Regions from separate parts of the Homo sapiens genome. Here all the other regions are linked to region 6. The links are contacts of gene promoters, found by promoter capture Hi-C in blood cells and fetal thymus (Javierre and others, 2016). All regions are on one chromosome and are shown on one strand. The core of a region is centred on a gene start or on the middle of the fragment in contact, and the rest is flanking DNA. Distances in the headings are between cores, read along the strand shown. Region 1 has its middle 59 kb from the start of LMNTD1. Region 2 has its middle 28 kb from the start of LMNTD1. Region 3 has its middle 88 kb from the start of LMNTD1. Region 4 has its middle 100 kb from the start of LMNTD1. Region 5 overlaps LMNTD1 (lamin tail domain containing 1). Region 6 holds the start of RASSF8 (Ras association domain family member 8). Region 7 overlaps LMNTD1 (lamin tail domain containing 1).

The links. The method cuts DNA at HindIII sites, captures the fragments that hold promoters and counts their contacts. A CHiCAGO score of 5 or more calls a contact.
Region 1: a fragment that was not itself captured here is called in contact with the fragment with the promoter of RASSF8 in region 6 in 2 of 17 cell types (endothelial precursors and megakaryocytes); the score reaches 7.0 in endothelial precursors.
Region 2: a contact is called between a fragment that was not itself captured here and the fragment with the promoter of RASSF8 in region 6, in 1 of 17 cell types (endothelial precursors). The highest score is 7.3, in endothelial precursors.
Region 3: a fragment that was not itself captured here is called in contact with the fragment with the promoter of RASSF8 in region 6 in 2 of 17 cell types (endothelial precursors and megakaryocytes); the score reaches 8.1 in endothelial precursors.
Region 4: a fragment that was not itself captured here is called in contact with the fragment with the promoter of RASSF8 in region 6 in 9 of 17 cell types (endothelial precursors, M2 macrophages, M1 macrophages and 6 more); the score reaches 9.1 in endothelial precursors.
Region 5: a contact is called between a fragment that was not itself captured here and the fragment with the promoter of RASSF8 in region 6, in 1 of 17 cell types (endothelial precursors). The highest score is 5.1, in endothelial precursors.
Region 7: a fragment that was not itself captured here is called in contact with the fragment with the promoter of RASSF8 in region 6 in 1 of 17 cell types (megakaryocytes); the score reaches 5.1 in megakaryocytes.

The regions. Positions count from the first base shown.
Region 1 is chr12:25,610,085-25,614,151 of GRCh38, reverse strand. It overlaps a transcript of LMNTD1 not described here. Among named protein-coding and RNA genes, the nearest start is that of LMNTD1, 59 kb to the right of the region's middle. The HindIII fragment of the contact is 1,293 bases long and covers 827-2,119 here.
Region 2 is chr12:25,579,329-25,583,061 of GRCh38, reverse strand. It overlaps a transcript of LMNTD1 not described here. Among named protein-coding and RNA genes, the nearest start is that of LMNTD1, 28 kb to the right of the region's middle. The HindIII fragment of the contact is 1,335 bases long and covers 734-2,068 here.
Region 3 is chr12:25,639,000-25,643,209 of GRCh38, reverse strand. It overlaps a transcript of LMNTD1 not described here. Among named protein-coding and RNA genes, the nearest start is that of LMNTD1, 88 kb to the right of the region's middle. The HindIII fragment of the contact is 597 bases long and covers 1,020-1,616 here.
Region 4 is chr12:25,451,677-25,455,748 of GRCh38, reverse strand. No RefSeq gene overlaps it. Among named protein-coding and RNA genes, the nearest start is that of LMNTD1, 100 kb to the left of the region's middle. The HindIII fragment of the contact is 4,379 bases long and covers 1-4,072 here.
Region 5 is chr12:25,540,902-25,545,070 of GRCh38, reverse strand. The region is part of intron 4 of LMNTD1 (lamin tail domain containing 1); the gene reads left to right. Among named protein-coding and RNA genes, the nearest start is that of LMNTD1, 10 kb to the left of the region's middle. The HindIII fragment of the contact is 626 bases long and covers 1,378-2,003 here.
Region 6 is chr12:25,956,079-25,959,946 of GRCh38, reverse strand. It overlaps RASSF8 (Ras association domain family member 8), which reads right to left and starts at 1,265. Exons shown (of 6, transcript NM_001394098.1): 1 at 799-1,265. RASSF8-AS1 (RASSF8 antisense RNA 1) reads left to right here and starts at 505. Exons shown (of 4, transcript NR_038228.1): 1 at 505-621; 2 at 3,183-3,308; 3 at 3,600-3,720. RefSeq lists silencers at 654-703, 844-893, 964-1,063, 1,164-1,653. The HindIII fragment of the contact is 3,942 bases long and covers 1-3,581 here.
Region 7 is chr12:25,488,845-25,492,582 of GRCh38, reverse strand. The region is part of intron 9 of LMNTD1 (lamin tail domain containing 1); the gene reads left to right. Among named protein-coding and RNA genes, the nearest start is that of LMNTD1, 63 kb to the left of the region's middle. The HindIII fragment of the contact is 1,348 bases long and covers 1,254-2,601 here.

The DNA of each region.
Region 1 (4,067 bases), core at 224-2,723, 350 kb after region 6:
GTCTCCCTACTCCCACTGGCGACTGATGACTTGTCTTGATAAACCCAATGGACACTTTTTTTAGATACTTTTTTTTTTTACCCACCAGCAGCAATTGACATTAATAATCATTCTCCTTCATTTTGGAAACCACTCTCTTCCTTTGTCCATGATACTCCTCTCTGCTTTTCCCTTTGTCCTTCTGTCTCCTCTCCCAATGCTTCCGCCTATCTTCTCCCTTAGTTGCCCCTCAGCTGCCAGCTGTATTTAGGAATCTGCTTGAATCCCATTTCTAAAGGAGCCCCTTTAGACTCCACACCCTCCTCCCACATCATCCATCTCTTTCATAGGTGGGGTTCTGTGAAAAAAGTGAAAGTATTTCCAAATACTTTCTCTCTTTCCAATGTTTACTTTTCCTATGACCTGTTGACAGCAAGATTCTATTGATATTAAATATTTTTTCTAATAAGCTAATTTAATTTATGCATGCATTCAATCATCTCTTAATTCCCTTAACAAATATGCATAAGGTTTTATGTGCCAGACACTATTCAGAGCACTGCACTACAATGTTAATTATCAAATGAGGCTCATTTACATTTTGCCAGAAGCCTTCAATTCCTAGGTCCAAAGAAGTAAGTCATGATCATAGAGTTAACATTTTTGTTGCAGTTTACATAATGCTTTTGTGTAATTTATGCCATATAATGCTCATAACAACTGCAAGAAGTAGATTGATCAGGTATTGTTTTAACCTCAGGAAACCAAGGCCCAGTGATTCCCACTAAAAGATCTAGCTAAAAAACGGTAGAGTCAAAACACACACAGGTCTTTTGGTTCCTAAGCTTATCTTGATTTCATTTCTACCCGTCATGTCAGAACCAGCAATAAGAGTGCTTTAAAGTCTAGAAGAAGAACAGGATCTGTGTGGTGCATTGACTTTCTGTTGCTACTATAACAAATTACCACCAACTTCATGCCTTAAAACAACAGACATTTATTCTCTTAAAGGTTTTGGATGTCAGAAGTCCAAAACAAGTGTCTCACTGGGTTGAAATCAAGGTGTCTTCAGGGCTGCACTTCCTCCAGAGCTTCCAGGGGACAATCCCTTTCACTGCATTCTCCTATATTCTGGAATCTGTCCTCGTTCCATGGCTCATGACATTGCTCTTTCTCCTGCTGCTGCCATCATCCCATTGCCTTCTTCCTCTTCTAGCAGATCTCCCTCTGTCTGCCTATAAGAACACTTGAGACTACATCACAGGACCCACTCAGATAATGCAGGAGATCACCTTACCTCAAGATCCTTAATCTATTCACATCTGAAAGTCACTTTTGCCATATAAGGTAACTTTCACAGGTTCCAGAAATTAAGACCTAGATGTCTTTGGGGCCATTATTCAACCTATCACATATGGTAGCCTTTAAACTCTATACACGGGGGACATTTAAAAATATATATATATATAAAGTCATTCCAGCTCTAGACTCCTTTTTCTGTTTCCCTGCATTTAGATCAGTTCATCAGAGCTTCATTCATTCAGCCAAAGGGATTCAGGCACCATGCTAGATACTGGGCATACAACAAGCAGATAACAGTGGTGAAGATAAAAATAAGATCTGATGCGAGTTTACATTACCTGAGTGACTCAGCAAAGGTTTCCTAGATGTAAAATTGCTTGACCTAAGCCTTGAATAGCAGTAGGAGTTTGTTAGGCAGATATCAAAAGAAAGAAGTCTAGAAAAAGGGACAGAGATGGTCCAAAGCCTAAAAGTGTAAAATCCACAGTGAATTCCATCCAGGCTGTGAGTAGTGGTTCAGTGTTGTTGACAGTGGGAGCGCGTGTGTGTGTGTGTGTGTGTGTGTGTGTGTGTGTGTGTGAGGGACCTTAGAGACTCAGATAGAACTGGTTAATTGTAGGAAATGATATACTTTTTTCCAGATTGTTCATTCATTTGTTTTAACAAGAAGCATTTGAGTTAATCTAAAAAAATTTAATTTTGCTATCTCTCCATCTAAAGCCACAGTATTTTTCTTATTTCTTTAGTTGGCAGTGAAAAGCCCTCTACTTCACTGAACACACACAAAAACCTTTGAATAGGTACAATTATGTTAAAGGCTAAGATGGTAAAACAAGCTTAATAAGCACTCTATCCCTGGATGGAAATTTTTTGCTGTTCCATGAAGAAAATACTCCAACGGATAGAAGTTTACTCTTAAATTCCACCACACAGAATAAAGAGAAAGCAACCAAAGAGGAAATGTTATGGATCAGAACTGGCAAGCAAAGGAAATCCAAGTGTATAAAGAACCATTTAAATCAGACTGGCATAAAATGAGGTCCATTCTAATCTAACTTTTGAATGCATTGCTATTGCTCTCTAAGGAAATGGGATCAGGCTCATTTTCCAAGACCACTTGACTGGAAAAATAAAATCAAATAAATATTTTAGCAGTACTCATGGCTATGACTGTGTGTGTGTACGTATGTGTATGAGAAAGAGAAAGGGAGTCAATCCTTTACTTCTCAATCATATTTTGGAAGCATTCTCATTATGTTTTTGTTCTTTAAGGCAATATACTGTAAATGTTCTCAAATGGAATAGTGGAACACTGGAGCTAAACCATTATACCTGAGTAAAATGATGAGTGGGATTAAACTTAACCATCTGAACTCAGCTACATAGTCGAGGATTCCAGTGTGGACAAACTTCCTTCATCCTAGTCCCTCCTCATCACTGTATTCCTCACAGCCTGTGCTTAAATGTTCCCATTCTAAACAAAACAACCCCTCCTAAAACCATCAAAACACCAAAGGCTTCCTTTGATCCTGTTAATCCTCTTCTTGCACTGATTAGTAATGTTTTTAAAAATTATTTATCTTCGTGGTCTCCTTGCCCTCATGATCTAATCATATCATAACACCTAAACATATGATTTCTGTCTCCAGTACGCCATTAAAATTGCCCTTTAATAACATTTCTTCTTAATCACCAAATGGCATAGCTTTGCTACAATTTTTGTCCTCTTTGACTTCCCTGGTATTTGAGGTTAAAACTTTGTCCTTCCCTTGACGTCCTGCCCTGCTTTATACTGGTTCTCTTCGTTCTCTTCACTTTCCTTCTCTGCTTCTTTGACTCCTCTGTGCGCCTAGAAATAGGTGTTACTCAAGGGGTCTCTGCTCTCCTTAAAGACGTTACTTGAGAATCTCTCACCCCCACAGTTGTGACTGTTGAAGACAAGTGGCTTCCCAATTTTCCTTCAGTCTGAGCCTCTGCTGTCCTCTCAAATTTCTTATGCCCAAACCAAACCCAACACCTTCTTCTGAAGCTAGCTGAGCCTTGAGACTTCCTTATATCTAATCAATGAGACCACTATTCTCCCAGTCCAAACTAATAACCTTGGAAGTTTCTGTGGTTTCTTCTTAACCCTGGATTAGTGAGATGCCAAGCCCCATGTTGTCTCCTTTACTCTACCCCTTGGGTCCCCTCCACTTCCATCTATATGATCACCACTTCAATTCAGCCTCTCATTGCCTTTCTCCTGGACCACAATCCTAGTTTCCTAATCATCTCCTCATCTCCTCATCTTTCATTCTTCTCTTTCTTTGATCCATCCTTAACCCACTGCCAGCTGTAAAAAACATTAATAGCCTTGTGTTGTCCAATAAATTAAATCTAAATGAAGGTGCGGGGTCCATTCCAAGATGGCCAAATAGGAACAGCTCCGGTCTGCAGCTCTCAGTGTGACTGATGCAGAAGACAGGTGATTTCTCCATTTCCAACTGAGGTACCTGGTTCATCTCATTGGGACTGGTCAGAAAGTGGGTGCAGCCCACAGAGGGCAAGCTGAAGCAGGACGGGATATTGCCTCACCCAGGAAGCACAAGGGGCCTGGAAATTTCCCTTTCCTAGCCAAGGGAAGCCATGACAGACTGTACTGGGAAAATTGGGACTCTGCCACCTAGACACTGCACTTTTCCAACAGTCTTAGCAAATGGCACACCAGGAAATTAAATCCCATGCATGGCTCAGCAGGTCCCATGCCCACAGAGCCTTGCTCACTGCTAGTCCAAGATAGAACTGCA
Region 2 (3,733 bases), core at 152-2,651, 380 kb after region 6:
AGCCTGGGCGAAAGATCGAGACTCCGTCTCAAAAAAAAAAAAAAAAATTATCCAGGCATGGTGTCACGAACCTGTAGTCTCAGCTACTCAGAAGGCTGAGGCAGGAGGATCATTTGAGCCCTGGAGGTCAAGGTTGCAGTGAGCCATGATCGTGCTACTGCACTCCAGCCTGGACAACAGAGTGAGACCTACTCTCAAATAAATAAATAAACTGCTTAAATAACTTATTATATATTAGGTGACAAAAGTTTTCAGGTATAGGTTTGGTGTGCATTTCGTAGTTAGCATTGCAAACTATCTCCTAACTCTAAAATTCTATAATTAGCAGATACTATAAAAATGATTATGAAAATCAAATACAGATGATTTCTCACATAACTCTGCTTATAGAGTATTGACACAGTCTTATTTAAATATCAAATTTAGGTTGTCATATTTTAAAAAGTTTTTTCCAGATGTATGGTTTCATGAGAAGCCATCTGCAACTTCCAAAAATTTATTCGGAGCCCATGAAGTTTTAATGTTTCCGCACTTTGAGGTCTCCTATTGAATATTCCACTTTTCTCATGATCTAAGTGTTTTGTTTGATTCTTTATAGGCTTCTGAGCAAGATCACCATTTGGAGACAGACTTATCTAAAGTGAGTTATAAATTTGTATGCAATTTACCGATTAACAGGTATGAAAAATAACAGCTGATTTAATTTAATTATTACATCATAGGATGATAAGCTTGGAAGTGAGCTTTGCATAATATTCCCTGTCATGACCGTCCTCTGTTGACACAGATACATAGACAGGGTTATTTGTGGCTGTAGAAAATGTGAAGCAGACAGTACTTGGAAGTGAAGGGAAGAAACCACAGCAAGATCTTGCCTGTAATTCTTCTTTTGGTCACTCTGGCATCCTAGTTAGATCCTGAAAATCCATATGGAGCTACCATATAATCTTCCTCTCCCTCAGTGAAGAAACATTTCAGACCTGTTGGCTGTGGGACCCATGATACCAGGCTTTTGCCCCTTCACATGGATGAGGATGAGATAAAAGTCGAGGAATAAAGGAAGTCAGGTGTAAATAAAAGTAAATACAGCCAAGTCCTGCATAAAGATCTTTCGATCAATGATGGACTTCAAATATGACAGTGGTCTCATAACATTTTATTGCATTTTTACTGTAGTCTTTCTATGTTTAGATACACAAATACTTAGATTGTGTTACAATTGCCTGCAGTATTCAGTACAGTAACATGCTATACAGGTTTGTAGCCTAGGGGCAATAGGCTATCCCATATAACCTAGGTGTGTAGTAGGCCATACCATCTAGGTTTGCATAAGTACACTTTGTGATGTTTGCACAACCAAAATCACCTAATGATGCATCTCTCAGAACTAGAACATATACCCATCATTAAGCAACACACAACTGTATATTTTCTAAACTAGATTTAACTCTTTATAATATCAATTATTTTTGTCAGTTTTTATGTCAGAATTTGATACCTATGATGATAAAGTTTAATCAAAAGAGTAATATATTTGAAAAATAATGGCTTCATTATTAAATTCTGTGATTTAGAGGTGCTCAATTTCTTGTCTTAGAATCGCCTTTCCTAATCCTAATAGGTTCAAAGAGTCAGAGAAACAACATAACTATGATAACATTACCCATCTTGACAGCTGACCTGCCAACTACATTACCTTGTTGCTCCTCACATTTTATCAGCAAAAGAGATGCCTCCATTGAAAATGAATCCAGATGTTTTAAACGCAGATGCTTTGGAGATAAAACAACAGTAGTTCTGTTTGACAAATAAAGCACTGCGCGGGGCCTTTAGCTTATCCCTAGTATATAACTCTGGCCATATGACCATTTCTCAGCAGCACAGTCAGCACTGGCTCATAATAATAGGCATGCAGTCCATTGTGATGTCTTATGTACGCTGCTACAGGATGCTTCCAGGAAATATAAGCCTTATCTGCCTTTTCCTCCTCTCTTTTGATTGGAGAGATTGCTGTTCAGAATAGAAATCTTCTCTACTAACTTAAATTAGTTCCAAGTAGGCTAAAGCTTACTGTTCATGGGGGATTATATGCCATGTCCTTAAATACATGGTCTTACTTGTTCTCTTAACAACCCGGTAAGGGAGGTATCCATTTCCCCATTTTGAAAAGGAAGAAATAGATCTCAGAGAGGTTAAACAGCTTACCAAAGTCTCATAGGTTTAAGAGATTGCTCTCAATTCAATTTCCGGTTTGTCTGATTTCAAAGTCCAGGATTTTCCCACCCAGGTTCAAAGAAGGAAAAGTCATGAAATTACCCAAACTAGAGGTTACTATATCTGACCTCTGAACTTACCAAATCCATAGTGTAGCTTTGATCGTTAAACAGGTTGATGATAATTTTGGTATAGATCAGGCAAATTTCACAATTATTTAGATAAAAGTAATTCTGTTTTAGAAAGAATTACTATAAAGACTGTCTATATTTTGTTCATTTTATCAAACATATAAGGGTACAACTATATGAGGATATTATGCCAGTCCCTGGAAATAGGATGAATAAAGCACAGCCCTTGCCCTTAATCTCGTAGCATCATGGTAAAGATAGATTTGAAATAATGCCAGCAACTGGGAGTGTTATTCATAATATTTAATACTTGTGCTGAACAAGTACCCACCAATCAGAATGGAGACTGACTATATACAGCTGGTATGGATGGCCACAGTGCAAATGATTGCGTATCAGTTTTGCCTTAACAATGGAATCAATACTGAAATAGAGATACATGAAAACATCAATGGAAAGGTGGATGGAAGGAGGGGCCAGAGGGGGTCATGAAAAACTACAAAATAGAGATGATGCATGATCTGAACCTTAACAGATAAGTGGGAGTTTTCCATTGGACAAAAGAGGACATGGCATTCTAGGCAGAGGACACAACTAAACTGAACAAAGCCTGGGTGGCATAGGGAAGTGTCTAGTAGCCTACTGTGGTTAGATCACAGGGCTTGCAGAGAGTAGTTGCACATGATAATGAAATTTGTCTTAGGCCCAATCATGAAGGGCCTTAGCAAATCTAATAAGTTTTTACTTTCTTCTCTGGGTATCAGAGAACCCAAATAATTACATCTATGCTTGAGATAATTTGTGGGGTACAATAGAGAATGCACTGGCAGGGGAAAACTGCTCAGAGGCTCGCTGGGTAGTTCTGGAGAGATGCGATTGGAGTCTATACCGGTATTGTTGAAAAGAGAAGGGGATGGATGCAAGAGGCATTTGATAATATGTAGTGGTTGGTTGAGTATACTGAGAGAGGGAAAGGAGGAATCAAGAATGAGTCCAAAGCTCTTGGCTTGAGCAATTTAGTTGGTTTTTACTGAGATAGCACAGGGAGATGGAGATAACATCTCCAGGATGTTTGGAAATTGAGCAAGATAATAAGCTTGGTTTGGGGCATAGTGTGCCATACAGAACACCTAGATAGAGAAGTCAAAGAGGCAATTAGTATTATTATAGATAACTGATAGCACCTGCCCTATTTATTAGTCGATGCCTTGTATAGTCATCTTTTGGTATCCATGGGGGATTGGTTCCAGGACCTTCTGCAGATGCCAGAATCCTTAAATGCTAAAGTCCCTGATATAAAATGGTGTGATATTTGCATATAACCTACACATACCACCTGTATACTTTAAATTACCTCTAGATTACTTACAATAGCTAATACAATGTAA
Region 3 (4,210 bases), core at 69-2,568, 320 kb after region 6:
TCATAAATGATAATGTAAGTTTTATTTATATTTCTGTCATGACTTGCTGTATGACTCTTATTACAATCTAAAATTACCATGTTATATGTTTTTTTCTGTCTCACTCAAGGATCATAAGATCTTAGAGAAGCTTATTCTTAAAGGACTATTAATCCTTCTTCAAGGCTATGATCTTGTGCTATATTTTCAGAGCCTAGAACAGTGCTTGGAACGTTGCATTAACTGAATTGTTGAATGCATACTGACCTCTAATATCGAAAATATATCATAGACGTGGCATGACTAAATAGAAGATTTGAAAATACAGTCCTGAGAAATCTGACTTGTGGGACATATATAAAATTCCAATTGGCTGTACTGAGCTCAGGTTGGGGCTGTGGCACCAGAGTGAAGTTAATCCACTGAGCATCAGCTAAGGTAGCTCTGACTCAAATAATGTCCTTAAGAAACAGGCTCTCCATGCTTTTCTTTTCTGAGATGAGGAGAAAGAAGATTAAAAGAGATTAAAAGATTTTAAAAGATTGAACAAGTTTAAATATTTTTTGAAAGGAAGAAAGTTATATTTGGAGAATAAAGCTAATGTTAATTTTTGGCACCTTCAGTACTAAAGCAGAGATGACCAAAGACAGATGGAGTGTTGTAGTCCATTTGGATTACTTTAATAGAACATCACAGGCCAGAAGGATTAAACGACAAACATTTCTTTCTTACAGTTCTGGAAGCTGGGAAGTCCAAGATCGGAGTGCAGCATGGTTGGGTTCTTAGTGAGGGCCCTCCTTCTGGTTCATAGATGGCTGTCTGTCTTCTCATGAGATCCTCACACAACAGAGAGAGAGCCCCAGTTTTCTCACCCCCTTATAAAGATATATTTAATCACATTATGGGGGCTCAACCCTCATGACCTTATTTAAACCTAATTACCCTCCGAAGGTTCCACCTTCAGATACCCTCACAGTGGTGATTAGAGCTTCAACAGATGAATTTTGGGGGAAGGATCACAAACATTCAGTTCATAAGCTTCCTTCTCTCAAGGCCCAAAACAAAAATATAGTTCCTTACCTGGACCCTTTAACATATATTATTTTGTAAATGGCATCTAAATCATAAAATTCATTCCACTAACTTTGGGGAAATGTTTTTTAAAGATTTGGATGGAGTATGGTTGGGTTAATGAGGAGACTGTACAGTAAGGAAAACTCTTGGGTTGCTGAATTGAGTTTTAGAATTTCTGACTGAAATTCGCAAATTTGGTTTAGTATAAATAATTTCAAGCTACTTTTTAAAAAGTGAAAAGTCCTACTATGGTTGTAAGTAATAGTACAAATAATAATGATATATTTATTATTCAAGAGTGAAAAAAAATTAGGATGGGAAAGCAGAGAAGCCTAAATGGATAAGACCAGGTTTTCAGCAGTTGTTTAATTTCCAAATTGTGCATCTCTTATATTATATTCTGTGGAACTGCAGAGTTTCATAATGTTTCTTTTATTATTTACTACAAAGTTTGATGTGACATATGAAATATACACTTTAAATGTTTACCCTTGTGGATAAATAATAGTACAAGCAGTTATTATATTACTTTTATAAAAAGTATATCTATTTGAAGTTAAGCTTAATAATCATAACTTCCATTTATTGACCATTATGCTGGTTTCTAAATACACATTATTAATAATCTTACCAAGTAGGAAAGATGTTATGTTATTCCCCTTTAACTGAACAAAGGCTTAAATACTTACCTCAGGTCACATTGATAGTAAGTGCCACAGACAATATTTGAACCCATTATTTTTTTCCTGACAATAAACCTCAGAACCTTTCCATGGCATGTAGCTTACTGTATCAGCCAATAATTTTCTTATTGCTGTTCATTTTTTTCAGCCAAACTGCTGGTTTATACATGCACCTTATAAAGGAAAGGAAATCAAGACATCAATATTACCTAGTCTTGGTAAAATTCAAATTTTGCTACATTAGTACAGCCTTATGAACATTAATAAAAACAGAATACTATTACCTTCTTGCACTTATCAGATCTATTCTATAGTCATCCATCCATCCATCCAAAACATACTGGTTGAGTACATACTACATGCCAAACACAGTATTAGTTGCAGAAATTATTTTTCATCTGAGTATTGCTAGTACCAAGCACTTTTTGATGTCCTGTAAATGTTTGTAGTATGAGTAAATGAACAGAAAAGAAAACTAAATATACTTCAAATTAAAAACACTTTTCTGGCTGGGCACGGTGGCTTACGCCTGTAATCCCAACACTTTGGGAGGCCGAGGCAGGTGGATCACGAGGTCAGGAGATCGAGACCATCCTGGCTAACACAGTGAAACCCCGTCTCTGCTAAAAAATACAAAAAAAAAGTTAGCCAGGCATGGTGGTGGGCACCTGTAGTCCCAGCTACTCGGGAGGCTTAGGCAGGAGAATGGCGTGAACCCGGGAGGTGGAGCTTGTAGTGAGCTGAGTTTGCGCCACTATACTCCAGGGCCTGGGCGACAGAGCGAGACTCCGTCTCAAAAAAAAAACAAAAAACCTCTTTTCTTCAATAAGCTGATATTTTATTACAATTGTAATGTCATGGATAACTAATAAATTTTTAAATAACATTATTTAATGTAATTAATGATTCTTAATATATACACATAGTTATGTGATCACCACAATATAATTTTAGATTTTTTTTTTTTTTTGAGACAGTCTCACTCTGTTACTCAGGCTGGAGTGCAGTGGTGCAATCTCAGCTCACTGCAACCTCCACCTCCTGGGCTCAAGTGATCCTCCAACCTCAGTCTCTTGAGTAGGTTAGGCCTATAGACATGCCATGCCCGGCTAATTTTTGTATTTTTTGTAGAGACAGGGTTTTGCCACATTGCCCAGGCTGGTCTCGAACTCCTGGACTCAAGCAATCTGCCCGCCTTGGCCTCCCAAAGTGCTGGGATTATGGGTGTGAGAGCCACTGCACCCAATCTTAATTACCTATTCTATTTTCTATCACCTCTAAAAGAAACTTCACACTCGTTAGCAGTCACTTCCCACTCCTCTCCCCCCAAGTCACCTAGCTTGAGGCAATTACTAATCTCTTTTCTGTCTCTGTAGATTTGCCTAATTTGGACTTTTCATATAAATGGAATCATATAATTGTGGTCTTTTATGTCTGTCTTCTTTCACTTAGCATGTTTTCAAGGTTCATCCATGTGGTAGTATGTATCAGTAGTTCATTTCTTTATTGCTGAATAATATCCCATTGGATGGATATGCCACATTTTGTTTATTCATTCATCAATTTATGGACATTGGGTTGTTTCCATTTTTTGGCTATTGTGACAAATGCTACTATGCATGTTCACATATAGCTTTTGTGTGGATATGTGTTTTTATATTTATTGTGTATAGATCTAGGTGTGGAATTGCCGAGTCATAAGGTAACTATATGTTTAACACTTTCAGAATGTCAAACTGTTTCCCAAAGCAGCGACACCATTTTACATTCCCACAAACAATGTACAAAGCTTCCCATTTGTTCACATACTAAACAAGACTTGCTATTTTCTGTCTTTTAAAATTATACCCAGGCTAGTGTTTGAGAACAGGATCTTATTGTGGTTTTGATTTCCATTCCCCTAATGATTAATGATCTTTTCGTGTGCTTGTTGGTTATTCGTATATCTTTTTTGAAAAAATGTCTATTCAACTTCTTTACCCATTTTTAAATTGCATTGTTTGTCTTTTTATTGTTGAGTTGGAAGGGTTCTTTATGTATTCTGGACACGTGATTTTTATCAGCTTTGGAAATATTTTCTTTAATTCTGTGAGTTGTCTCTTCACTTTCTTGATGGTATTCCTTGTAGCAAAAAAGTTTTCAATTTTGATGAAGTCAAATTTATCTATTTTTTTATTTTGTCACTTGTACATTTAGTGTCATATCTAAAAAGGCTTAGCCCAACTCAAAGCCACAACAATTTATTTCTACATTTTCTTCTCAAAGTTTCATAGTTCTAACTCTTACATATAGGTCTATGATCCATTTTGAGGTAATTTTTGTGTGTAATTTGAGGAAGGGTCCAACTTCATTCATTTGCATGTAGATATTTAGTTATCTGGGTATAATTTGTTGAAAACACCACTCTTTTTCCCTTGAATTGCCTTAGCACCCTTGTCAAAAATCAATTGACTATGAATATAGGAATTATTTTT
Region 4 (4,072 bases), core at 680-3,179, 500 kb after region 6:
AACCAGGAGTCCTTTCCTCATTGTTTAGTTTTGTCAATATTGTCAAAGATTAAATGGTTGTAGGTGTGTGGTTTTATTTCTGGGTTCTCTATTCTGTTCCATTGATCTATGTGTCTGTTTTTGTACAAGTACCATGCTGTTTTTGTTACTGTAGCCTTATGGTATAGTTTGAAATCCAGTAATCTGATACCTCCAGCTTTCTTCCATTTGCTTAAGATTGCTTTCACTATTTAGGCTCTTTTTTAGTTTCATATGAATTTTAAAATTGTTTTTCTAATTCTGTGAAAAATGTCATTTGTAGTCTGATAGGAATAGCATTGAATCTGTAGATTGCTTTGGGCAATATGACCATTTTAACAATATTGATTCTTCTAATCCACGAGCATGGAATGTTTTTCCATTTGTTTGTGTCATCTATGATTTCTTTCAGCAGTGTTTTGTAATTTCCCTTGTAGAAATCTTTCATCTCCTTGGTTCAATGTATTCCCAAGTAGTTTATTTTATTTTTGTGGCTACTGTAAATGAGATTGTGTTCTTGATTTGGCACTCAGCTTGAACATTATTGCTGTATAGAAATGCTATTGATTTTGCACATTGATTTTGTATCCTGAACTTTACTGATGGCATTTATCAGTTTTAGGCTTTTGGTGAAGTCTTTAGGGTTTTCTAGGTATAGAATCATATCATCAGTGAAAAGAGATAATTTGACCTCTTCTTTTCTAATTTTGGATGCCTTTTCTTTCTTTCTCTTGCCTGATTGCCCTGGCTAGAACTTCTAGAACAATGTTGAATAGGAGTGGTGAAAGTGGGCGTCCTTGTCTTGTTTCAGGTCTTAAGGGGAATGATTCCAGCTTTTTCCTATTCAGAATGATGTTGGCTGTGGGTTTGTCATAGATGGCTTTTATTATTTTCAGGTATGTTCCTTATATGCTGAGTTTGTTGAGGGTTTTTATTATGAAGGGATGTTGGATTTTATTGAAAACTTCTTCTGTTATCTATTGAGATAATCATATGGTTTTTGTTTTTAGTTCTGTTTATGTGGTGAATCACATTTATTGACTTAGGTATGTTGAACCAACCTTGCATCCCAGGAATAAAGCCTACTTGATCATAGTGAATTAACTTTTTGATATGCTGCTGAATTCAATTTGCTAGTATTTTTCGAGGATTTTTGCATCTATGTTCATCAAAAATATTGGCCTGGCTTGGCGTGGTGGCACATGCCTGTAATTCCAGCACTTTGGGAGGCTGCAGATCACCTGAGGTCAGGAGTTCGAGACCAGCCTGACCAATATGGTGAAACCCTGTCTCTACTAAAAACATAAAAATTAGCTGGGGCTAGTGGTAGGCACCTGTAGTCCCAGCTACTCGGGAAGCTGAGACAGGAGAATTGCTTGAAACTGGGAGGCGGAGGTTGCAGTGAGCCGAGATCGTGCCTGGGCAACAAAGTGAGACTCCATCTCAAAAAAATAAATAAATAAAATTGGCCTATAGTTTTCTTTTTTGTTGTATCTTTGCCAGATTTTAGTATCAGGGTGATAAATGGCTTTGTAGAATAAGTTAGAGAGAAGTTCCTCTTCCTCAGCTTTTTGGAAGAGTTTCAGTAGAATTGGTACCAACTCTTTGCTGTGCACACAAACTACAAAATCTAGAGGAAATGGATAAATTTCTTGACACTTGCAACCTCCCAAGATTGAACTAGGAAGAAATTGAAACCCTTAACAGACCAAAATTGAGTTCTAAAATTGAATCAGTAATAAAAAACCTACCAAAAAAAAAAAAAAAAAAAAAAAAAAGCCTGGGACCAGACAGATTCACTGATGAATTCTACCTACCAGACATACAAGGTACACCACCACCTCATCCTAGATAGACAGGAATTTGAACTGCTGCCCTATCACATCTCTGTTCCAGAGCTCATGACTCCTAGATCAGATGTACACTGTAGCCTTTTTCTGAACCACAATGTAGTTGAGAGCCTCAGGGGTTGCTTCATTTGTGACTCTCCGTGGCAGTGGTTTTGGGGCAGAACTTCATCACTCAGCCTAATTAATACAGATGGCATTGTGGCTCACCATTCTCCAATGTGATAGCACTGCATCTTCATGTAAAAGGGGTTAGGGGGCCTCCGCCTTTGGGCCTGTGCAGGTTGTGGTGATATTGGCTGGGTGGGTGGGTCCAATCTCAGGCCCTGGGAGAAATGGTCAGGTGTCAGCAGAATTGGAATGGGGTTCTCCAACTCCCCAGCCCCTAAATGGCCAGCTGGACAGCGTGTATGAGTCTTGATGGGGCTGGATCGGGTGGAGCCTGAGTTGCTGGTTGTGATAGGGAGGGCCAGGCTGGTCCCTGAGTTACCAGCTGAACTCTCACATAGGGTCAGGTGGTGGGATCTCGAGGGAAGATCACAGGCCTGTGAAGATAAGGTTTTCACGGCTGCAATGTTCATACATGGGCGATGTTGGTGCATTGGAAGTCAGAAAGCAGCAAGCCCTGTTGGGAAGGTGCAGTGGGGTCATGGCCTCTCTGCAGGGCAGCTGCTGGCTTGCTGGAGACTCCCCAAAGCACTCAGGCTTTTTGTTCCCTCCCCAGCCTGGGGGCAGCAGCAGGAGGGCACTGCAATGGCAGCCAGTGGCAGAGGGCCTGTTAGTTGTCTCTGGGAGCTCCACCACAGAGAAATGCAGAGCCCTGGCCATAGGACTGACTGCACTTCCAAGCCCAGGGGCCTTGCCTGGAAATGCGCAGAGTGGGCAGGAGCTTGCAGGAAAGACAGTCTGACCTCCTCTCTGTTGGGTGGCTGCGGTGTGCTGGAGGTGCCTGTGAAAGCAATCAGGCTCCATGTTCCTCCTCCCTAGTCTGGGGGCAACAGAAGGTACCACAGAGTGGCAGAGGGGCTGTTGGTTACCTCTGGGAGCTACACTGCAAAGAAATGCAGAGCCCTAATGGGGGACCAGAGTGCTCAGGTGGGGTGAGGTGGCTGCGTTGGGAGCCTAGGCCAGGGGGCCTTTGCTGGGGAGGAGCAGTGGAGACAGGGCCTGCAGTCTCACTCCTTATCAACACTTATCCTGGGAGCATGTGAAGGAGCCTGCCCTTCTTTTTTGGTGGAGGTAGGGCAGCTGGCTACAGGGTGCTCAAGGATCCAAGGTCTGTGGGGCTCCATGTGGGCTTCAGCAGTGGCTCTGCCCAGAATCCAGGCAGCTCTCTGTGTCAGTCTGGAGGCCCAGGGTGGGAGGTTAACAGGGGCGGGGCGAGCGCTTAGGGGGAATCTCTCATGCCCAGGATTGCAAAGGAGCATGGGGGAAGTGTGGGTCCCGGGGGAATCTTGCTCACTCACCCTTTCCCCTTGGTGGGGAGTCTCCCCAGCTCCACACCCATCCCAGGCGGTCAGCGACCCTGCTTTACTCTTCTCTGTTCTCCGTGGGTCCTGTTGCTTCCTTGATGAATCTCAGCGTGGCCTCCTGGATAATCCACTTGAAGAGCTAGGATTTACTCTCCACTCTCCTCTCTGTGAGAGCCGTGTGCATCAGCTGCTTCCAGTCAGCCATCTTGAATTCTCCCCTACAACGTTTTTAATCAGTCAGAGTTCAACCAGAAGAGTAGAAACTGCTTTCAAAACTGTATTTCAAACAGAAAACCATTAGCACCGTAAACCCCATCTCTACTAAAAATACAAAAAATTAGCCGGGCGTGGTGGCGGGTGCCTATAGTCCCAGCTACTCGGGAGGCTGAGGCAGGAGAATGGCATGAACCCGGGAGCTTGCAGTGAGCCGAGATCGCACCACTGCCCTCCAGCCTGGGCGACAGAGCAAGACTCCGTCTCAAAAAAAAAAGAAAAAAAGAAAAAAAGAAAGAAATTACTGAAAAACTAATTGGCCGCCTTTAAGGAATGTTAGAGTGTCAATTTATTATGCTGAAAACTAAAATATAAAGAGAAAAATCAAGTCTTCCTGTACAAATTGTTTTTCATGGAAACCAAATAGTTGAATAGGTAAAGTTCTTTATGAAAGAATTGCAAGTCATAAATGCCTAAAAATAACAAAATTAAAATATCACCATTTTTTAAATTTAACTTTTA
Region 5 (4,169 bases), core at 441-2,940, 420 kb after region 6:
AGTATAAAACCTCTGGTAAAATTAAGTACATGGAAAAACCCAGAATTGTAATTGTGGTATACAATCCACTCATTACTCTAGCGTGAATCCCAAAAGACAAATCTATCAAAAACAGTAATAGCTATAGCAGTCTGCTAAGAGATAGGCAGTATAAAAATACGTAAATTGAGAAAACTAACAGTCAAAATATGGAAGGATGGAGTTCCAGTCTAGAGATTTTTTCTTTGTTTCTATTCTTTCTTTTTTTCTATTCTTTCCTTTGTGATTCAAGGTAAGTATTCATCTCTTTAAAGTAACTTGTTATAGCTGTAAGATGTTTTTTGTAAGCCTCATGTAACCACAATGCAAAAACCTATAATAGATTCACAAAAAATAAAAAGCAATGAATTAAAATATACTACCAAAGAAAATTACTTAACCACAAAAGAATATAGTAATAAAGGACAAAAGGAAGAGACAAATTATAAAACAACCCAAAAACAAGAAATAAATTCTTCTTTTCAATAATAATACTTAATGTAAATGGACTCAATACTCAATTTAAAGGCATAGAGTGGCTTAGGGATAAGGAAACAAAATCCAGCTATATGCTGCCTAGAAGAAACCCACTTCACCTACAAAGGCATACAGACTGAAAGTGAAGGGATAGAAAAACTATTCCATTCAACTGGAAACCAAAAAAGAGTAGGAGTAGCTATACTTAGATAAAATAGACTACAAATCAATGACTATAAAAAGAGACAAAGAAGGTCACTATATAATGATAAAGGGGTCAATTCAGCAAGAAGATATAATAATTATAAATATCTGTACACCCCACACCAAAGCTCCCAAGTATATAAAGCAAACGAATAGATTTAAACAGAGATATAGACTGCAGTACAGTAGTAGGGCACTTTAACATCCTATTCTCAGTAATGGACAGATGAACCAGACACAAAAATCACGAAGAAACATCAGAGTTAAGTTGCACATTAGACCAATGAGGCCTGACATGTGCAGAACATTTCACCCAATTGCTGCAGAATATACATTCTTTTCATCAGCACGTGGAACATTTTCCTGAATAGACTCTCTCTTAAGCCACAAAACAAATATCAAAAAAGTAAAAATTATGTCAAGTACTTTTGTGACCACATTGGAATAAAACCAGAAATCAATTCTTGGAACTTAGGAAAATACACAAACACATGGAAATTAAGAAACACAGTTCCAAGCAACCAATGGATCAGTGAGGAAACTGAGAAGAAAATTTAAAAATGTCTTGAAACAAATGGAAATGGAAACACAACATACCAAAATCTCTGGGACACAAAAAAAAGCAGTACTAAAAGGGAAGTTTATGGCAATAAATACCTATATCAAGAAAGAAAAGCTTCAAGTAAACAATCTAACAACGTATCTCAAGGAGAACTAGGAAAGCAAGAAAAAAAAAACAAACTGAAAATTAGTAGAAGAAAAGAAACAATAAAGATCAGAGAAAAATAAATGAAATTGAGACCAAAAAATATAGATCAACAAACAAAAAGTTGGCTTTTTTCCATGGTGTTGGATTGTATCAAATACTTTCTATGCATCTAGTGAGATGATCATATGGTTTTTCTTTTTTAATGTTAAACATCCCTTCACTTTTACCATAAATATTTGGTCATAATGTTTATGTTTTACTATACTGTTTGAATTCCATTTGTTAAAATATTGCTTCAAACTTTTGCATCAATGTTTGTAAAGATTATTGGTCTGTAGTTTTCTTTCCCTGTAATGTCCTTGTCTGTTTTGGTATCACGGTAATTCCACTGTTTATGGAATGAGATGGGATATAGTCTCTCCTTTATCCTTTTCTAGAAGAGATTGTGTAGAAGTAATTTTTTTTCATAAATGTCTTATAGAACTTATTGGTGAAGCCATCTGGGCCTGGAATTTCTTGGTGGTAAAGTTTTAAAACTATAAATTGTTTTTAAATAGATATTAGGCTATTCTAATTATTTCTTCTTGAATAAGCTTGGGTAGTTTTTGTCTTTCAAGAAATGTGTCCATTTTTATCTAAGTTGTCCAATTATTTGCATAATGTCATTTATAATATTCTCTTATCCTTTTAAGAACTGTAGAATCTTTATTGGTATCACCTTTCTCATTTCTCATATGGTCATCTGTATCTTCTCTTTTTCCTGATCATATCACTAGAGATTTAGTTTTATTGAGCTCCTCAAAGAACATGTGTTTGGTTATATTGGTTTCCCCTATTTTTTGTTTTTTATTTAATTGATTTTCATTTTGGGCTACATTCCCTTTCTTCTGTCTACTTTGGGCTTTTTTTTTCTTCTTTTTTTATTTAATTTATTTATTTTTATTATACTTTAAGTTTTAGGGTACATGTGCACATTGTGCAGGTTAGTTACATATGTATACATATGCCATGCTAGTGTGCTGCACCCACTAACTCGTCATCTAGCATTAGGTATATCTCCCAGTGCTTTCCCTTCCCCCTCCCCCCACCCCACAACAGTCCCCAGAGTGTAATGTTCCCCTTCCTGTGTCCATGTGATCTCATTGTTCAATTCCCACCTATGAGTGAGAATATGCAGTGTTTGGTTTTTTGTTCTTGCGATAGTTTACTGAGAATAATGATTTCCAATTTCATCCATGTCCCTACAAAGGACATGAACTCATCATTTTTTATGGCTGCATAGTATTCCATGGTGTATATGTGCCACACTTTCTTAATCCAGTCTATCATTGTTGGACATTTGGGTTGGTTCCAAGTCTTTGCTATTGTGAATAATGCCGCAATAAACATACACGTGCATGTGTCTTTATACCAGCATGATTTATAGTCCTTTGGGTATATACCCAGTAATGGGAGGCTGGGTCAAATGGTATTTCTAGTTCTAGATCCCTGAGGAATCGCCACACTGACTTCCACAATGGTTGAACTAGTTTACAGTCCCACCAACAGTGTAAAAGTGTTCCTATTTCTCCATATCCTCTCCAGCACCTGTTGTTTCCTGACTTTTTAATGATTGCCATTCTAACTGGTGTGAGATGGTATCTCATTGTGGTTTTGATTTGCAGGTCTCTGATGGCCAGTGATGGTGAGCATTTTTTCGTGTGTCTGTTGGCTGCATAAATGTCTTCTTTTGAGAAGTGTCTGTTCATGTCCTTCGCCCACTTTTTGATGGGGTTGTTTGTTTTTTTCTTGTAAATTTGTTTGAGTTCATTGTAGATTCTGGATATTAGCCCTTTGTCAGATGAGTAGGTTGCAAAAATTTTCTCCCATTTTGTAGGTTGCCTGTTCACTCTGATGGTAGTTTCTTTTGCTGTGCAGAAGCTCTTTAGTTTAATTAGATCCCATTTGTCAATTTTGTCTTTTGTTGCCATTGCTTTTGGTGTTTTAGACATGAAGTCCTTGCCCATGTCTATGTCCTGAATGGTAATGCCTAGGTTTTCTTCTAGGGTTTTTATGGTTTTAGGTCTAACATTTAAGTCTTTAATCCATCTTGAATTGATTTTTGTATAAGGTGTAAGGAAGGGATCCAGTTTCAGCTTTCTACATATGGCTAGCCAGTTTTCCCAGAACCATTTATTAAATAGGGAATCCTTTCCCCATTGCTTGTTTTTCTCAGGTTTGTCAAAGATCAGATAGTTGTAGATATGTGGCGTTATTTCTGAGGGCTCTGTTCTGTTCCATTGATCTATATCTCTGTTTTGGTACCAGTACCATGCTGTTTTGGTAGCCTTGTAGTATAGTTTGAAGTCAGGTAGTGTGATGCCTCCAGCTTTGTTCTTTTGGCTTAGGATTGAATTGGTGATGCGGGCTCTTTTTTGGTTCCATATGAACTTTAAAGTAGTTTTTTCCAATTCTGTGAAGAAAGGCATTGGTAGCTTGATGGGGATGGCATTGAATCTGTAAATTACCTTGGGCAGTATGGCCATTTTCACAATATTGATTCTTCCTACCCATGAGCATGGAATGTTCTTCCATTTGTTTGTATCCTCTTTTATTTCCTTGAGCAGCGGTTTGTAGTTCTCCTTGAAGAGGTCCTTCACATCCCTTGTAAGTTGGATTCCTAGGTATTTTATTCTCTTTGAAGCAATTGTGAATGGGAGTTCACTCATGGTTTGGTTCTCCGTTTGTCTGTTGTTGGTGTATAGGAATGCTTGTGATTTTT
Region 6 (3,868 bases), core at 16-2,515:
AGCAACAATATTGACCCGCAATTATATATCCTACGTTGCACTGTTCAAGATGCCATTTGAGGCTGGGAAAGTAGTGGTTTAGCAACACCAGGCGGCTCTATGATGCTAAAATAACAACGCAACACTGGATTCCGAACCCAAGTACTCATCTTTTAAAACCCAGTGCCGCACCAGGACCCACATTCAAAGCTCGCGTCCCTTCAAGTTGAATCTTCCGGCTTTGTGCGATTTACCCTCTCAAACTTTCTAGTTTGCAAGTCAGAATTACTTTGAACGTCCCCTCTTCTGGACTCCCCTCCCCAAAGGGACTGGCGGCAAAGGAGAATAGAATGCAGATGGTTAATAGTTCAAATGAAATTTAAAAACCTATAAACCAATATTTTTTTAGAGGAGAAAAGCGTTCACCAAACCGCCACCCGGCAAGCGAGCATCCGATTTCCATCCGGAGGAAAAAATATTTTAAAAACCAGACATAAAATTCCCTTTGCAAGAAAAGTGGCCTCTAAACTCCCTTGCCAAGGACACTGGGAGGAAGCAGAAAAGCAAAGACCAAGCTCGTACTTTTCAGTCCGCGGCTTGTGTGCCGCGAGGAGAGGCGCAAAGGGTGACACACCAGGAAAGGTGAACGCAGAGGGAGCGGGAGCCCGCGGCGGGGCAGGGTGGGGGCGGAACGGACGAGGTACCCAAGGTGCGGAGAGAGGGGCAACCGGGCGGAGGGCAGCTCCGAGGCTGCAGGCGGGACGGGCGGGGTCCCCGGCGCAGCCCGGATCGCCGCCGCTAAGTAAAGTTAATACTTACTCAGTTTCGCAACTGCGCCGCCCCCGCAGGCCGCCCAGAGGGGCCGGCCGGGGCGCTGGGGACGCGGCGGCACCCGGAGCTCCGCGGCCGCCCAGCGCCCGTCCCCGCGCCGCACTCCCCGGCACTCCCCGGCGCTCCCCGCGCCGCGCGCCCCGCACCGGCTGGAGGCCCCGGCCCCCCGGCGTTCCCTCTCCGCGCACCTCCCGGCCCGCGCTAGGTGAGTGTGGACGCCACTGGCGGGGGTGCCGCGGTGCGCGAGCGCTCGGCCAGCGGCAGAGACGCCGCGGGAGCCGCCCCCAGCGCCAACGCCGCCGCGGGCGGGAAGGGCGAGGCTCGGCGAGGCTGGGCGAGGAGCTGGGCGGCAGACGCTGAGCGGGGCGCGGCGCGGGGCGCCGGACGAGCGCGGGCGTAGGAGGAGCGCGGGCGTAGGAGTCGGCGACCCGCTCGCTCCCGCGGCCGGTGCCTCTGGGCTGGGGGCCGGGCTGGGGGCCGGGCCGGGCCGGGCCGGGCCGGGCGGCCAGGCGGCTCCGCCCCTTCGCCGGGCAGCGGCTGAGCGCGCGAGAGGAGCGGCGCGGGGGCGCCCCCCTCGGCCGGGCGCTCGGGTTTCAGCCGCCGCTCCTCCGCGCCCCGCCCGCGCCTGGCCCGCTCGCCGGCGCCGGGAGAGACCTCGTAACGGAACTGGGACGCCAGCGCTGCATTGTGGGAGCTTTTAAAGCGGCGGGGAGCTCGGCGCGACCCTCGGGCCCACCGGGCCACGCTCGCCCGGCCCGCGACGCCCCCCCGCTGTCGCCTGGCCCGCGACGCACCGAGGCCTGAGGACCCGAAAGCCGGGCGCGGGGAGATGACCGGTGGCTCGTGACGGTCCCACGGGCAAAATCTTCCATCGCCCGGGGCTGAGACTTGTCAAACTGCCCTCTACGGTCACCCGGAAAGTAGGAGGCTTTTTCTGCAGAGGGGAAAAAAATCAAAAAGAGCCGTTCCATCCCCCCTCCAAGGACTGGGTTTGAATTGCTTTTCATCTGCAGTGGCTGTGATTCAGCGTCCCTCTTAGCAGCAGGCAATGACAGAGGCAGGAGAGGGGAAAAAAAAAAAGAAAGAAAGAAAAAACACAGCAAATGAATCAAACGGACGTGAGTAACAAAAGTTTAGAAAGAGCTGGGCTCGTATTCAGAAAAAACGCCTCATCCCCCCGCCCCGCTGCACTCCCAACCCCTTTAAAAATAGCAGATAATCAAGAAAGGAAACGGGTGCTTTCATATGGAAATACAGATGTGTATGTTGTTTTCAATATTCTACTGTTTTTTTGTGTGTGGCATGCAATTACTCAGGCACTGGGCAAAATTCAGCCTTTGGATTTTGTGGTCACACATACCCCAACTCCGCAACAGCTATTAATTTGCAGGGCGATGGGGTGCGGATAGTGGATGAGATACAAGAAAGCATTCCAATTAAAATGCCCCCCCCCACCCCGCCTTTTAATTTTCCAGACACTTGCTTTTATTTTTCTTTTTTTAAACATCATCAAAACAAGAATATTAAACTTGAAGCAGAATTTGTTACAGCGTATCTGACTCAGGACCTGATTTAAGGTTTGGGGTTTTTTGGCCCTTTGTTTCTTCCTCTTGTTTTTTGACCTTTAGTTACTCCACACCTCATTAGTTCCTTGACCTGCAGGTGGACTGAGAAGAGAGCCATGGTAAGACTCAAATTTGTCAAATCAACATTTGGAGAGGAGAAAGTTCACTGTGATTCAAATGCAAAACCAAAGGGAATATGATTTAAAAGTCAACCTGGAGGGCATGGATCCTCCCTTAACCCTACTTGACTCTTTTCAAAGGAGTTGCCTAGCCTTAAGGTGAATGTTTCCTAACCTCTCATTCCCTTCTCAGCCTTTCACTCCACTGAACAACATCAGCCATTGCTTAATTGCCAAATCTAATGGAAAAATTTAATTCCCATCTTGTGCCCTTTGTGGCATTTGCCAATGTTGACCTCTCCTTCTTAGAACTTTCTGCCTTTTGGCCGGGCGCGGTGGCTCATGCCTATAACCCCAGCACTTTGGGAGGCCAAGGCTGGCAGATTGCCTGAGGTTGGGAGTTCGAGACCAGCCTGACCAACATGGAGAAACCCCGTCTCTACTAAAAATACAAAATTAGCCGGGCATGGTGGCACATGCCTGCAATCCCAGCAACTGGGAGGCTGAGGCAGGAGAATCGCTTGAACCTGGGAGGCAGAGGTTGCAGTGAGCCGAGATCACGCCATTGCACCCCAGCCTGGGCAACAAGAGCGAAACTCCATCTCAAAAAAAAAAAAAAAAAAAAAAAAAAAACTTTCCTCCTTTCTTTGGCTGTGGTAGTGATCCCTCTTTTGTGTACTTCTTGAAGCAGGTAGCAGGCAAGAGTGTGGTTATCGTTGGACCAGGATTCAGGATCTGACTGAGTAGCTGACTCTTAATCCAGTTTGTGTTGATCACCAGGAGGATCTGGACCTCAGTATTACCACATCTAGAGGTGAGCAAGTTGACTGACTCTTGATAACTAACTCTTATATGATGAGCATTTATATCAGGACAGAACTTCCTGATTGGATAACAATACCTACTATTTAGGAAAAACCCTTCCTAAAAATCCAGGTATCCTCACCTCCAGTCTTACTGATGGCTGCCAAAGTCAGTGAATTTGCCTCCATTCAGTGCTGGATAAGTGCAGAAAAATCTTTACCCTACCTAGCCCATTTGGTTAATGCGTTCTTTCTTCAGAGTGTAGTACAATTTGTTTTAAGCTTTTTTTTTTTTTTGGTAGCTATAATCACATCCCTGTTAAGCCTTCCTGAGATCACACCAAATGTCCTTGATGGGAATTGTAAACAACCCTTACTTCTGGTTTCTAATGATATTCCAGGAAAGGAGCCTAACTAGAGTCAGTGAGTATTCATGCACTTCAAACCCTGTGACATAATAAGATTTGATTTTTAAGAAAACAACTTGAGAGGATGGATTCAGAAAAGAGGCAGATCCAAGGGAGAGTCTAAACTGGAGAGCAGTGGCAATGAACAGGAGGAGGCCATATCG
Region 7 (3,738 bases), core at 678-3,177, 470 kb after region 6:
AGTGATGACATCTAGCTTTGGCTTCAGAGTAAATGTCTGCCTTTGTTATCAGCATAGACTTCTTAAAATTCTTCTCTCCTTTATCATCTACTATCTGAATGAACAAAGCATAAAATATTCGTGACAAGTTTTTTTCCCCTAAAAATTCAGTGTTAAGCCAATATCAATCTATACAATGCAACTCATGATCCCTAATTAATAAATTACACATTGTTCCATCTCCGCTATGAAAATATGCTATAGGGAAATTGACATGTGCAAGGAGCTGTCTCAGGAAGTAAGAAGGACATCCTTTAAGAGTATCAACCTAAATTGAAAAGTTGGCTTGAATTATTATGCTAAGCCTATGCTATAACATTTTCAGGTAAAAACTTGATGGATATTCCAGTCTTAAGACTTTTGAAAAAATGTGTTCATAAGATTGACTGATATGTTCTTCTAAACTTGTCCTGCTGGTTTTGCCAAAATGCTGCACCATTTAGTTCACATTACTGTTCAAGATCCCACAATGACTCTTACTTTCCCATAGTTTGAAATCTAAAGTAAACTCTAATGTTTGCTAAGTTTTCTGGTTGATTTCTGGACGTATATCTCTCCCTTCTGTGTTTATTTGTGCAATCACTGCCTCAATTAGCACCTTATTTTATGTAAATTATCAACTCCCTAAATGTTCCCAAGGACTCCAGCTTGCTAAAGTTACCTTATCCTTTTAAAAGGCTAACAAAAAATTGGCTTGTAACCTGCCCCCACAATGGGAAACCTATTGTCTCTCCTAATAACTCTGAGGAATGTTGATTGTTTAGGGGTTAAGCTTCCCTGGTCACTAATGACCTCCTGGTGAATTCCCCATGGTCTATCCCTGTGTTGCCTTCTGTGCATGCTGTTCTTTCCCAGCAGCACATCACCATCAGGCTGGCACCACCTCAAATCCTCCAGCACCAAACTACTTTCTACACAAGACTGTATGTGTCCAGCCCACATTGCCTTGGGGCAATAGAGAGAATTTGTTACTTGGTCTATAACCCAGCAAATAACTTAGAACTGAAAGTTTATTGTCTCTGAAGTCTTTTGGGCATTCCCATCTCTAGCAATTTCTCAAGGACTTTCTCCCCATACAGGCACGTTACGTTGCTCCATCAACCTTCCTTTCTCGTCTCTTTTCCTTAGCTTCATAGTCCAGTTCTAGCTCCTCCCCACCACCCCTCTGTAGACTTTCCTGTTACTTCTCTTATAGAAAGTTTCTCTTTCAAGCTTTTTTGGTTAAATAAGGTTAGTCTTGTTCCAAAAGAAACACATTTCAGATACAATGTCTGCTTCATACTGCATTATACCCATTGCCCCACTCTCTTGATCAACATTTGATTTTCTCCGTATAAAATGCTAAGTTTCCTTTGGTAATTATTTTATAGAAAAAAGGGGAAAAAATGATCAAGCACCTATGTGGTAATCAGCCACTGAACTAGATACTTTTAACTAGTTATCATTTCATCCTCAGGCGGCACTGGGCCCCAACACCAGTAGCCAGCTAGAGCTCATCTGTAGCTGCTCCATCTCTATCTGGCAAGAGCCATATGGTTTGCCTCAGTCAATTATTGATTTCACTTTTATAAAGGCATGCCACTTTGCCTTTTGTAACCCTGGAATTGTGTTTGTCAAAGACTAGTCCTTACAGCAGTTGCATTGCATTAGGTGGGAGTTTGTTAGAACTCCAAGATCTTAGAACCCACCCAGACCTACCAAATTAGAATCCACATTTTAACTCTCTTCCTGGGTGGTTAGTGTGCACATCAGATTTAGAGAAGCACAAATCTCCATATATTACTAGGTTCACAGTATCTTTATAGATTCTTGTTGATTAATGTCTGTATTCAATTAGGATTGCTGGCTCAGCATTAGAGGACATTGATGACCCTATATTTCCAGAAGCAGCAGCAAAATAACTGTCCAAAAATAAAGGGAAGGCTTTAGTTCTGAATTTAAACTATTTGCAAAAACTTAAAAACTGATTTTCATGTTTATAGTTCCCTTCCGCACCTCTGTAAAATGAGGTTTCCTTTTTCCATACCTTAAATGTAAGAATGTAAGGGCTTCACTTCTAACTTTTATAGAATGATCCATTCCACCTAGATAATAGATTTACTACTTTTGCTCATTGGCAACTAAAGAGTATATACCTTGTTCAGATTTGTAATTGCCAAGTGTTTTAGAAATGAGGCCCTTGAAAAAGGATATTATAGTTTAAACTTCACTTAATGTTAAAAAAAATATTATGGTCAATAGACCCTCTTTGAACTTCCCAAGTGGAGTTTTGCTAGTTCTTTTGCAACTAGCAAAAAACCCATTGTGAATATCTGTCATTTTCCATAGTTTCTTCGCTAGCTGTAGGTTTGTTTGCTTGCTTATTTCTTGCTAACTTTTTAAACAGGAGGGATTAGAGAAAAGTAAGGGATAGTGTTACAGAAGAATACATTACACATTACAGGCTTATCCAAAGCCTTCAGATACCGAACAAATTGTGGGGTGGAGAAGCAGAGAGTTAGAAAGGATATTTGCTGAACTGGTTTTTATTTACAGTCAAATAGTTTAAAAAGAAACTAAGCTTTCTGGTTTCCTTTAGATTTTTATCAGTACCGTTTTTACAGTTTCTCTTTGGCATCAAAATAAATCTTTCTGATATATTACTTCAAGTGAAACCAATAAATTTATAGCCACAACATAAAGATTTTGGAAGCTTTTTCAACATAAAGATTTTGGAAGTGCTTTCAAATATTTGAAATCAGTACATACAATCCTTATATCCTGAATCGTCATTCACCTTTTTATTTTTCAATAATATCACCAGGTTTTCTTTTGTAATTTCATTTCTTTTGCAATTTCATTACAAGCGAGTTTCTTCATAACTACTTAAAATGGCTATTGGGGACTGAGAGGGGAGGAGCCAAGATGGCCGAATAGGAACAGCTCCGGTCTACAGCTCCCAGCGTGAGCGACGCAGAAGACTGGTGATTTCTGCATTTCCATCTGAGGTACCAGGTTCATCTCACTAGGGAGTGCCAGACAGTGGGCGCAGGTCAGCGGGTGCGCGCACCGTGCGCGAGCCAAAGCAGGGCGAGGCATTGCCTCACCTGGGAAGCGCAAGGGGTCAGGGAGTTCCCTTTCCGAGTCAAATAAAGGGGTGACGGACGCACCTGGAAAATCAGGTCACTCCCACCCGAATATTGCGCTTTTCAGACCGGCTTAAAAAACGGCGCACCACCAGACTATATCCCACACCTGGCTCGGAGGGTCCTACGCCCACGGAATCTCACTGATTGCTAGCACAGCAGTCTGAGATCAAACTGCAAGGCAGCAGCGAGTCTGGGGGAGGGGCGCCCGCCATTGCCCAGGCTTGCTTAGGTAAACAAAGCAGCCGGGAAGCTCGAACTGGGTGGAGCCCACCACTGTTCAAGGAGGCCTGCCTGCCACTGTAGGCTCCACCTCTGGGAGCAGGGCACAGACAAACAAAAAGACAGCAGTAACCTCTGCAGACTTAAATGTCCCTGTCTGACAGCTTTGAAGAGAGCAGTGGTTCTCCCAGCACACAGCTGGAGATCTGAGAACGGGCACACTGCCTCCTCAAGTGGGTCCCTGACCCCTGACCCCCGAGCAGCCTAACTGGGAGGCACCCCCCAGCAGGGGCACACTGACACCTCACAAGGCAGGGTATTCCAACAGACCTGCAGCTGAGGATCCTGTCTG